Linked DNA regions of Homo sapiens: regions 1 and 3 are each linked to region 2. The links are contacts of gene promoters, found by promoter capture Hi-C in blood cells and fetal thymus (Javierre and others, 2016). All regions are on one chromosome and are shown on one strand. The core of a region is centred on a gene start or on the middle of the fragment in contact, and the rest is flanking DNA. Distances in the headings are between cores, read along the strand shown.

The links. Contacts are between HindIII fragments. The CHiCAGO score rates a contact against its expected background, and 5 or more counts as called.
Region 1: a contact is called between a fragment that was not itself captured here and the fragment with the promoter of ARHGAP24 in region 2, in 2 of 17 cell types (total B cells and naive B cells). The highest score is 8.3, in total B cells.
Region 3: a contact is called between a fragment that was not itself captured here and the fragment with the promoter of ARHGAP24 in region 2, in 1 of 17 cell types (total B cells). The highest score is 5.4, in total B cells.

Annotation. Positions count from the first base shown.
Region 1 is chr4:85,281,081-85,285,131 of GRCh38, reverse strand. No RefSeq gene overlaps it. Among named protein-coding and RNA genes, the nearest start is that of ARHGAP24, 190 kb to the left of the region's middle. The HindIII fragment of the contact is 234 bases long and covers 2,337-2,570 here.
Region 2 is chr4:85,473,530-85,477,298 of GRCh38, reverse strand. It overlaps ARHGAP24 (Rho GTPase activating protein 24), which reads right to left and starts at 2,149. Exons shown (of 10, transcript NM_001025616.3): 1 at 1,740-2,149. The HindIII fragment of the contact is 5,990 bases long and covers 1-2,859 here.
Region 3 is chr4:85,328,883-85,332,568 of GRCh38, reverse strand. No RefSeq gene overlaps it. Among named protein-coding and RNA genes, the nearest start is that of ARHGAP24, 140 kb to the left of the region's middle. The HindIII fragment of the contact is 2,202 bases long and covers 427-2,628 here.

The DNA of each region.
Region 1 (4,051 bases), core at 1,204-3,703, 190 kb after region 2:
ATTTACCTAGCAACTTCTCCTGCTTTAGGAAGCTGATGGGCAACTGGTTGCCAGGCAACCACTAATTTTTTTCTAGCAAACAAAATGAAGAGATCACATTTTTTCTCAACAAAAAACAAAACCTTAGGTCTGTAGAGAACTGACCAAAACCAAGTCTAGAGGCTCTCACTGGGGTCTCTCATGAATATGCTTATAATCAGATAACTATGACTTTTATTCTTCTTCAAGGATACAGAGGAGAAACTGCAGGAGAGTTCATCACAAATGATGAAAGAAACAGCATTCAGGCAAAACTACAAGGGATGGACAGTTAAAACTGCCTCCTTTTTCAACACTTTGCAGTTCAATAACTATATGTTAGAAAAACTACTCTTCAAACTGGGGTACAGAGTGATATGCCAGAGGTTATGCTTCCACAGGGTAAATAAAACACATCTTGCTTGAGCATTAATGGTAACAAAATTTTTAAATGTATTTCTGATCAAAACAAACATAGGTATAGCATTCAACAGAATATAAAATTGCAAATATTGTTGGATTATAAAAATAAATACCTGATGGAATGACATATGCATATAAAAATTATACAATTTTTTTATGGCTGGGCGCAGTGGCTCATGCCTGTAATCCCAGCACTTTGGGAGGCCAAGGCAGGCAGATCACGAGGTCAGGAGATCAAGACCATCCTGGCTAACATGGTGAAACTCTGTCTCTACTAAAAAAATACAAAAAAATTAGGCGGGCGTGGTGGTGGGTGCCTGTAGTCCCAGCTACTCAGGAGGCTGAGGCAGGAGAATGGTGTGAACCCGGGAGGCGGAGCTTGCAGTGAGCAGAGATCACACCACTGCACTCTAGCCTGGGTGACAGAGCGAGACTCCATCTCAAAATAAATAAATAAATAATACAATTTTTTGTTTCGCTTTTTAATTTTTTAATTTTTAAATTATACTTAATTTCTGGGATACATGTGCAGAACATGCAGGTTTGTTACACAGGTATACATGTGCCATGGTGGTTTGCTGCACCCATCAACCCGTCATCTACATTAGGTATTTCTCCTACTGCTATCCGTCCCCTAGTCCCCACCCCCCGACAGGCCCTGGTGTGTGATGTTCCACTCCCTGTGTCCATGTGTTCTCATTGTTCAACTCCCACTTATTAGTAAGAACATGCAGTGTTTTGTTTTCTGTTCCTGTGTTAGTTTGCTGAGAATGATGGTTTCCAGCTTCATCCATGTCCCTGCAAAGGACATGAACTCATCCTTTTTTATGGCTGTGTAGTATTCTGTGGTGTATATGTGCTGGATTTTCTTTAGCCAGTATCATTGATGGGCATTTGGGTTGGTTCCAAGTCTTTGCTATTGTGAACAGTGCTGCAATAAACATACATGTACATGTGTCTTTATAGTTGAATGATTTATAATCCTTTGGGTATATACCCAGTAATGTGATTGCTGGGTCAAATGGTATTTCTGGTCCTAGATCCTTGAGGAATTGCCACACTGTCTTCCACAATGGTTGAACTAATTTACACTCCCACCAATAGTGTAAAAGCATTCATATTTCTCCATATCTTCTCCACCATCTGTTGTTTCCTGACTTTTATATAATTTTTTAAGGAAATATGAGATAAAGAAGTTTTATAACTTTGGAGTAGTAATTTTATTACATCTGAGTCTTGGGCTTTCTGCAAGTGAGGGTCATTCCTCTTGACAGTTCTCCACTTTGGAGTTGTTTCGGTTATCTACTGCTATGTAAAAAACACTCCAAAACTTAGCAGTTTAAAATAATGATATATTAATTCTCACAGTCCTGTAAGTTGTCAATTTGAGCAGTTCTTTTAGTCTTACTTGGGATCACTCATGTACCTGCAGTCATCTGACGGCTTGACTTAAACAGGTCTGGCAGTTGGTGCTCGCTATCAACTGGTTCTCTTCTATTTGGCTTCTCACCCTCTAATGGACTTGGCTGGGTTCCTCACAGAATGGTGGTTTCAAGGCTCCAATAAGTTAAGAATAGGTGCTACAAGACCTCTTAAGTTCTAAGTACTTAAACTATGTCACTTCTACCACATTCTATTAGTCAAAGCAAGTCACTAGGCTTCCCCAGTTTCAACAGGTGTAGAAGTAAATCTTACCTCTTGATTAGAGGGGCTTCAGGGTCACAATGCCAAGGTGCACGGATACAGAGAAGTGTGATTCACTGCAGTCATGACAGTACCAATTTCCCACAAGAGTATTTCAATGAGTTAAGCAGATTCATCACTTCACAAGGCCTCAGAAATGAAAACCATTCACTTAAGTAAAAATAACACCAATTTATTTGGCCCTTAAAGCTTGATTGTATTATCACCTTGTTTGAGGTGTGGCCAACCGAGGAAAGGTTTTTTTTTGTCTAGCAAAGATATTGCCTCCAATTAAGGCAAAATCAGAAGAATGTGGGCAGCTACTAAGCTATTCCCTGAAAAGAGTATAAGTAGAAGGCAAAAATCCCAGATCTAATGAATACCAAATCAGAAAAACCAACATCATAATCTATAGAAATTTTAAAGATTATGAAACACGTAAAGCTTCCAATCTACACTATTTTTTATTCTTTGTTTCCCCAAATTTATTAGGAGTAAAAAAAATCATCTTTGGTGTACTTTTGTAGAAAGAGAAAGGTATGGGTAGCAGACCATTATCATTAAGTATTGATATTATTACGTTAAACGTTATCACTGTGTAATCAGACTTACAAGAAGAAAAATGACAAGAGACAGAGTGTACCAGAGCAGCTGTGAAAGTAAGGAGTACGTGGATAGTTGGCCTATGCCTTAGAAAGCAACCTGGAGAACAGACTTCAGTGAAGAATATGGTCAGCTAAAATTCACCAATACTAGTTTTCATGACTTTTCTCACAAACCCTTCTATCTTGGCCCCTCAGCTGCAGCTACATCAATAAAGCCCTGACATTATGCATTCTGAAGACGAGGCAGGTAAATTTTATTTTGGGGTGATTTAATCCAAATTATATTAGCTTTAAACACACACACACACACACACACACACACACACACAGAGAGAGAGAGAGAGAGAGAGAGAATAAACCATGCAAACTTTTAAATAGGAAATTTTATAATAGGAAAATACATTAATACATTAAGAAGTTAAATTTAGCATTAAGAGTGTCAGTGGGAACACTAATGCAAGAATGACATGTTTTCCAAACCTCAAGGCCTCACAAGGCTTCATCCTATATACTGTGTATGGCTGTTAACATTAAAGCATTGCAATTTGTAAATCACAACCAGTAGAAGCTATTTGCTCTCATTGTTACTCTAGATAATTTTGAATATTACTGTGCCAGTTTGACTACTACATTTTTGAGAAACTGCCTTTTCCTATTATTCTTTCCATGTAATGTGATAAAAAGAGAAAAGCCAGAAAAGCTGACATTCTTAAAATAAATTGGAAACTTCTCTTTTGATACTGTGGTTTTCTTTATTAATATTTAAATCACTTGCACACATACTTTATTATAATAGCCATCAGAATGATGTGAGAATTAATTGAAGCAACAGTTATACAGTGATTATGAAATATTTGCAATAAGGGTCAGCTGTACAGAACAGAGTACTTTACTCTCACTGTGTATTGTAGAAAATCTGAGTCTGCCTTTATAGTAAAAATAAGCCCAGAAAATTCATTTATGAAGGGGATACATGAAAAGAACTGAGCATATGCAAAAATACCACGCAGAATGTGTTGGCATTGAGATGAAAACTGTTCAAAAAGAAAGAAGAAAGGAGGCTTTAGTTCTTCTTAAATAATACTAGATGATGAGTTGCAAAATATAAAACCATTTAACTTGGAAGCTGTCTATGATATACAAATAACTGAATTGCAGAAATTCTTGATGTTCCTCAACAGCAGCCAAACTCAAAGTGGTTCCTAGCCTTCACACCCATTTTTCTCTTCCCATGTGGATCACGTGATTCACCCTTAAGGAATCAATTGCCTTTTTGGGGCCTTTACATCCAGGTAAAGATTTTCCAGATATAACTATCTACT
Region 2 (3,769 bases), core at 900-3,399:
CCAAACCCCTGAGATGAAGTAATAAAACCAAGTAATATAGTTGAAAGCCAAGGACAGTCTGAGTTTCAACAGCCCCTCCACATGCAGAAAGAATTACCGATTATTTTTCCTAGTACCATACCTCTTTTATATTCCTTCCAAATACCTCAAACTAAATTCCAGATCTGAAAAACTCAGTTTATCTCTTATCCCCACTTAAAGGTCTTCCACCAAGAATATACTGCCTGTGAATGGTAGGATGTTATTTATTTCAGAGTTTTGTCAATATTTCCGTCCTCCAAGATGTCAAAGGTGAAGTCTCTGACCACTAAGTAATGGCTCTAGAGAGAACAGATTTCTGGACTTGCTACCTGAAGGCCAGGCAGTCAGGGAAGATAAAATGGTAACTTTTATTACTGAGCTCTCTTACAAGTTGAAATATGCCCAGAAAAGAGGAAGAATTAAGAAATTTAAAAGGGGGAGTGAGATCTTCACAAGTCTGATGTGACTTTATGGCTGTTTTCTGGCTTTTTCTAATACATACATTCTGTGTGTTTTATTTTACAATGCCCAGTTCAATAGCGTCATCCATTTTTGCCCTGAAGGATTGGTTTTGAGTTCTAATTGGAACTGGGGACAGATTGTTTGTATTTAATCCGTCTGTACATCTTCTACTCAGTAACTGAGTAAAGCTCTTAAACTCTACTGCAAATATCCCTGGATTCCAATGAATTTGTCTTACTTAGTAGACATAGCAACACATATTGTTTTATTTATGTATTTATGTATAAGCAAAGCCTTAACAACTTTTATATTCCAAATACTCAGCACGATTTATTTATTTCCTTTTTAGAAAGAGATGAAACAATGATGCCGTGGAAGGTTAAAAAAAGAGTAACATAAAATGTGCTGGAAACAGAAATTACTTGGAGAAATTACTTGTTTAATTCAAATGAATTAAACGAGATATAGTCTACAAAGAAGTCTGGGCTCCCTATTACTGGTTGATGCTGAAAATCTATCTAAGGAATTCAGAGTAACATTGTCTCCCTTCTATTTGGGTACGTATAAAATAAATGTAGTCTTAAGTATTTTCTAAAAACGAGACCATATTACATGTTTATCATTAAATGTTATTTTTAAAAACATTTGGACAAAATCTTTTGAGTGGCTTCAAATTCACCAAAGATTCCCTAACGTTTTGTGTTTACAAATATATGTATATATTTTATAATATATATTTCTAATATGTAATATATTTATAAATATTTTAAAACATATTTTATACATATAAAATATATATTTTTGCAAATATATATGCTTATTATTAAAACCTATCTTTGTGCGCCTGTTACATAGGGAACTCCTATAAGATACTAGAGGAAACAAACAAGGGGAAGGGGAGGATGGATACCAAGAGAGGAAATTGAATTGTACAAAGGGTTTTTATTAATTCCATCTATTTTTAAAGCCAGAAAGACATACTACCAGCTTGCTGTCTCCCGGCACAAACATGCGCGCGCGCGCACACACACACACAAACACAGACAGGCTACATCAGCACGGGATTCCTGCGATCCCTCCCCGCCCCCCGCAGCCCCCTCCCCGCCCCCCGCAGCCCCCTCCCCGCCCCCCGCAGCCCCCTCCCCGCCCCCCGCAGCCCCCTCCCCGCCCCCCGCAGCCCCCTCCCCTGGCGCAGGCAGCCGCGTCCGTCCTTCCCGCGGTAGCTCCGCGCACTTCCTCGCGACCGCATCACCTACCTTGCTGGGAGCTCAAGACAGATGCCGGACAGGGCTGCTGCTCCGAAGGAAAAGGCTCCCAGGACCAGCAGTAAGAAAACGCAAAGAAAAAAAGGTGGTAGTGAGGCTCCTTTACTTTCCACAACAAGGGGAAGTGTTGAACTCTATGCACTGGGCTGCTCCGCAGCGCGGGTTTCGGAGGAAATAGGCGGCCGAGAGAGCTGCGCCTGCGATGGGAAGTTGGGGGGATTCCCCCAGCCACCCAGCCACCCCCGCCAGGCTCCTCTCTGGTCCCCGCCGCAGCCTTGACAGCTCCCCTGGTCTCCGAGCCCCTCCAGAGCCCTGCTGGTTTCCACCCGGAGCTGGGCTGTGTTGCCACATGCACTTGAGAAATCCTAGCAGTTGCGCAAAGAGTCCCAGAAGTTAGAAAGGGTGATTGTGTGTGAATGTGTAAATATACAGTACAAGAGGCTGGAACAACTGAGTGGGGCCAACCCTCAGACACAGCTCGAGGTTTCAGATTTCATTTGGCAACTGGTAGCTTCACAGGACTCGAGCCGCACTACAGGGGAGGCCGGCAGGAGCCCCGCCCTCCCAAAGCCTGGGTTATCTGAGAGCTGGAGCTACACCGCCTGGCGCCACTGACAGAATGCGCCCTGCCTGGTTCCTCCGCATCTGGCATCGCTCGTTCCTTTCAAGTGCATCATAGATACTTGTTGGCCACAGATCTGGGGCTGTGGGCGCGAGAAGGTTGGTGAATACATGTCTCCTGCCCTCAAGGAGCTCTGCATTTCATTGGCCAAACCCCATACACCGGTTTTACTTGCTTCTACCAACTCTGTCTCGCTAACATTTTATTTCTCCAATTAGAATTACCTGGGCCATTAAAGCAATATTCCTGGAAATGCACATTTAGATGGATGCTCTCTAACTAGAGCCTTAGAGAAATTCAAAGTATAATTACTTTCTTACGGTGGTGTAAGAACTCTCGGAGTTACACAATATGGGACAAAAGGACAAACTAGTAAACATTGTTTTGATGCAGGCCGTCTCTTCCCACCATCACCACAATGTCTGTTTCAAATTGTGATCTTACAGTTCTGGTTACCTGGCATGCTGAGTCAAATTATTTCAAAAAGCTTTGTAAAGATCTCTGTTTTAGAAACCCACTTACAGTGGATCAGTCATGCAATCCTAGCACTTTGGAAGGCTGAGGCAGGAGGATCGCTTGAGCCCAGGGGTTTCAGACCAAAATTGGCAACATAATGAGACTCCTGTCTCTATAAAAAAAAAATTAAAAAAATAAAAAAAAAGTTGGGCGTGGCGGCGTATGTCTGTAGTCCCAGCTACTCAGGAGGCTGAAGCGGGAAAATCCCTTGAGCCCAGGAGGTCAAGGCTGCAGTGAGCTATAATTGTGCCAGCGCACTCCAGCCTAGGTGACGGAGTGACACCCCCGTCTCGAACAATTACTACTGCTACTACTAATAAAAGAAACTCTCTTTTAGAAATCATCACCAGATATCCTTAAGACACAGAATGGGGGTGTCCTCACTAGGGATCTCCAGTGAGAGAGGGATATGGAAGAAGAGCAAATGTTTAGTTTTAGAAACACCAAAAATAAAAGGCTGAGTGGACACTGATATGTTTTTCCTTTTTGTCCTCTTTCTCCAAGTTCTTGGAGAAACGAATCTACCCCATCCCATGCTGAGGTCCTACTATAAACTTGATTTTCTGGTGGGAGAATTCTCAGCCCTTTAATGAATCAAATTAATTTGTGTGGGGAAAAAATTGCGTTTCATATTTCATTTTAAAAATATGTATGGAATTCCTAAGCTAGAAGTAATGTAGCTTATTTTCCAATTGGTGGGAATAAATTACCTTCATCAACCCACATGGCCTTACATGTTCTAGCAACACCCTAGCAGGTGAATGCTGATGGGCAGTTTCAGATGAAAGCTGGAAAATAACATTAACCCAAATGAAATTTGCACACATTTGATGGACTCAAAAGCCTCAGGAAGACAAGTACCAATAATTATGATTCAAGATGG
Region 3 (3,686 bases), core at 278-2,777, 140 kb after region 2:
TGATATATAATTGATGTTCATAGTGCAGACAGCAAAACAAATGGAACAGGGGAAAAAATTCAAAAATATAGAAGAAAAGATAAGGAAACAAAAATGGAACTGAAAGATTGAAATTGATGATCGCCATGTACCACCAAAAAAAAATGTAGACAATTATCAAAGTTAGAATATATCTCTGGAATATTTGATATAAAAATTTGACAAAAAATGAACAATTCCAAGATATATTTAGAAAAGTTGCAAAACTACAAGGATTTAAAAAGTTATAAGGGATTGGCAGAAAAGGCAGGATACATATAATCCCAAGCAAGGAAGTAGACAAAATTGTGAACCTGCCAATTAATTTATTCACATTTATAGCACGGTCTAATGTGGAAGCACATATTTAAATGTAAACAAACAAAGAAATAAAGAGTGCTATAAGCTTCATGCATTTATTTAGCTTCAGGGAGATATATTAAAATGTAAGCACTTCCTCTTGTTTTAGAGAAACATTTATCCAAAGTCTTTTGCTTCAGGTAATTCAGCAATTACTTTAAATTTCAGAGAATTTTACTTCTGTTAAATGGGATTAAAATTAAATTTAATGCTTATAAATTGAGTGTATATTCTAATGCCTTTATTTTTCAAAAAATAACTTTAAAACCTATCTGTACACAAGGATAGAAAGATGTTTGAAATGTTATCAAATGTTGGTTATTCCTTGGTTGTGAAATGGAATCATGTTGTTTTTTATTCTTTATACTTTCTTCTCTATGTTTTCATACTTTTCTGTATTTTTTAGTTTTTACATAGATTGTTTTTATGAAAATTATAATTATGTATTTTGTGCACATGTACCCTAAAACTTAAAGTATAATAATAAAAAAAAGAAATAAATAGTAACAGACTGGGGTATCCTGTCTTAATCTCTGACTACCTGTTTTAATGATAGAAATGAGTTTTGAAATGTTTTCTCTGCAAATAAGAAATAATTTGCATGTATTTAGTGTATCCATTATGAGAGTCTCATCAATGTCTGCTGACAGGTGTCATGACCACAAGCATTAATTAAACTATGGGGTCTATACACAAAAAGGCCACCCTAAGAATCACATCAGATGGAAGACGTGACAACACAGGCAACTCAAGTGTCAACCCTCTATAACTGTCAACTCAAGGATTAAAATATTTCCAACATCAGTGTGTTTTATTATGTCCCTTTTTGTTACTCATTTATACAGTACTCTGAGGCACACTGAATAATATTTTATCTTTATCTATTTCTATTCAGGAAACTGAAGCTAGCCTAGTAATAGTCACACTTTAATATCAATCTATATTTATAGCAAAAGACTCAGTGTACAGGTTACAAAAAATCAGTGAATTGTGTGAGTTGATTTTTGATGATTGCCATGATCCTATAGTTACACTGTACATGCCCAAATCAGAATACTTTTCTTAATCCTTTAGCAATTATCTTAACTGAGATTCTCATAATCCTAGCTAAGATGGGGGGAGTCTCCTAAATGACCCTCTTGTTCTTTTCCCCAAGCCCCATTCCCATTGATCCTCTACAGTGTACCATTCCAGAATAATTTTTCTGAAAGTCAAATCTGTTTCTCTTGCCTCTATTCTTAAAAAAGTTATTTAATAAGTACCCATTGCCTTTCCTTTACAATCTAAATCCTGCTATATTATAGAAAGTTCATTATGACCTGGTTCCTCCCTCCCTATGTAAATCAATTTTAGAGGGGAATAATGTTTCCCCACTTGGAGTGGACATGAGGAAGGATTATTCTTCAGCATAGGCCTAGCCTCTCTCCACACTTTACATAGTCCCGTGAGAGGTAGAGATGTGATTGGTAAATCTGGGGAGAATAAACTAGAATATGCATGGCAAGCATCATTTCTTCTTGATCTGGGAAGCGAGCTGCTCCTGAGCACCATGACTTCTACCCCTCCTCTGGGTCTTTGTTTGCCATGGTCCCTTCCTTCTTTCACTGGGCCAAGAAATCAAATCCATCCTGGGCTTCAGAATTACCGAATTTATTTGGCTACCAAACCTAAAACCACATGCTCAGTCTGGCCTCTATTAGTAGAAAACAAACAAACAAAAAGAAATATTTTTCCCCCATTTGCTACTTTTGATTTATTTCCCAACTACTTTTTAAGAATCCAGGTGGAAAAGAAGGGTGCTGTTCTCTGGATGCCTCCTCCAAAAACCCCAATAAAATCTCACATTTTATGGAGGGATTACATTTGGTCAAAGACTGCATTGCTGAGTGCTGTAGTATGGGTTGTATCATTGAGTTATGACAGCTCTCCATCTCTACACAGCTTCCTCCTCTGGGCCCTTGCCTCCGTGGGGTTCCTCAACCTCTCTCACCACCCCATGTCCTCAACCTCCATGTCATCTCCTCCTAGCTACAAAGGAAAGGGAAGATTCCATATTTTATTTTGCAAAATAATAATAAAATACAAATTTTAGGATAAATCAAGAAATAGAACTTGTAAAGTGGTCACATAGGCTGATTTCCTATGAAATGTTAAGTTCAAGCAATATTTAGTTGTTATACACACTTTTTAAAACTTTTGGCTGAAATGTTTAAATATTCGGTGATGCAAGTGGTTCTGGGCCCTGAAGCTTATGTTTCTAGCATGGTGGTTAAGGATAGGATTAGAAGAAAGGGATTTCCTGACTATAACTAAGCTACTTGGGGGAATTTTTAATCCAGAGTTCCTTCTTGGCAACAAAAGAACATTCCCAGTCTTTTGATTTTTCCCTGGTATACAATTTTAGGGCCTCGGTGAAAATGAATTTTATATATTTTTATTATTATTATTTTGAGACACAGTCTCACTCTGTCCCCAGGCTGGAGTGCAGTGGTGCGTTTTGGTTCACTGCAAGCTCTGCCTCCCGGGTTCAAGTGATTCTCCTGCCTCAGCCTCCTGAGTAGCTGGGATTACAGGCACGTGCCACCATGCCCAGCTAATTTTTGTACTTTTAGTAGAGATGGGGTTTCACCATGTTGGCCAGGATGGTCTCGATCTCCTGACCTCATGATCCGCCTGCCTCAGCCTCCAAAGTGCTGGGATTACAGGCCTGAACCACGATGCCTGGCCATGAATTATATTTTTTATCGTGGTAAAATCCAATTAGAACTTGACCCCTGGTAAAATAACATTATATGTTTCTTTTTAATTGTTTTTGCAGACAAAGGACATAATGTCTCCCTAAATAAATTAGAGAAACATGCTTATCAAAAGAGTAAACAAGTGTGATTCCTTAAAAAAAGGAGTTTCATAGAAGGTTTTTACTTATTATTTGTTATCATTTAGCATATATTTGCAGGCAGATTATAGGGAAAGGAAGAGTTATGTTGGGTGACCTTGCTTAAGAATAATTGTCTTATTGCTTAAATATAAGACATCAATATAAATATTGCTTAAATATAAATATCAATTGCTTAAAAATAATTGATATTATTTTTACTACCCTTTGTTCCCATGAAAGGACATGTTATTGCATCATTACATGATGAGTGCCTGAATGTTCAGTTCAATGTAGCAGTTTTCCAGAATCTCATAAAACATCATATTTCCCTTCTTTTCTGATTCTTAGTCCTATTTTTTTTCTGTTATGTTTCTGATACAGGGTTCATGACAAAAAGTGAATTCTATAATTGCTGAAATAAAAAATACCA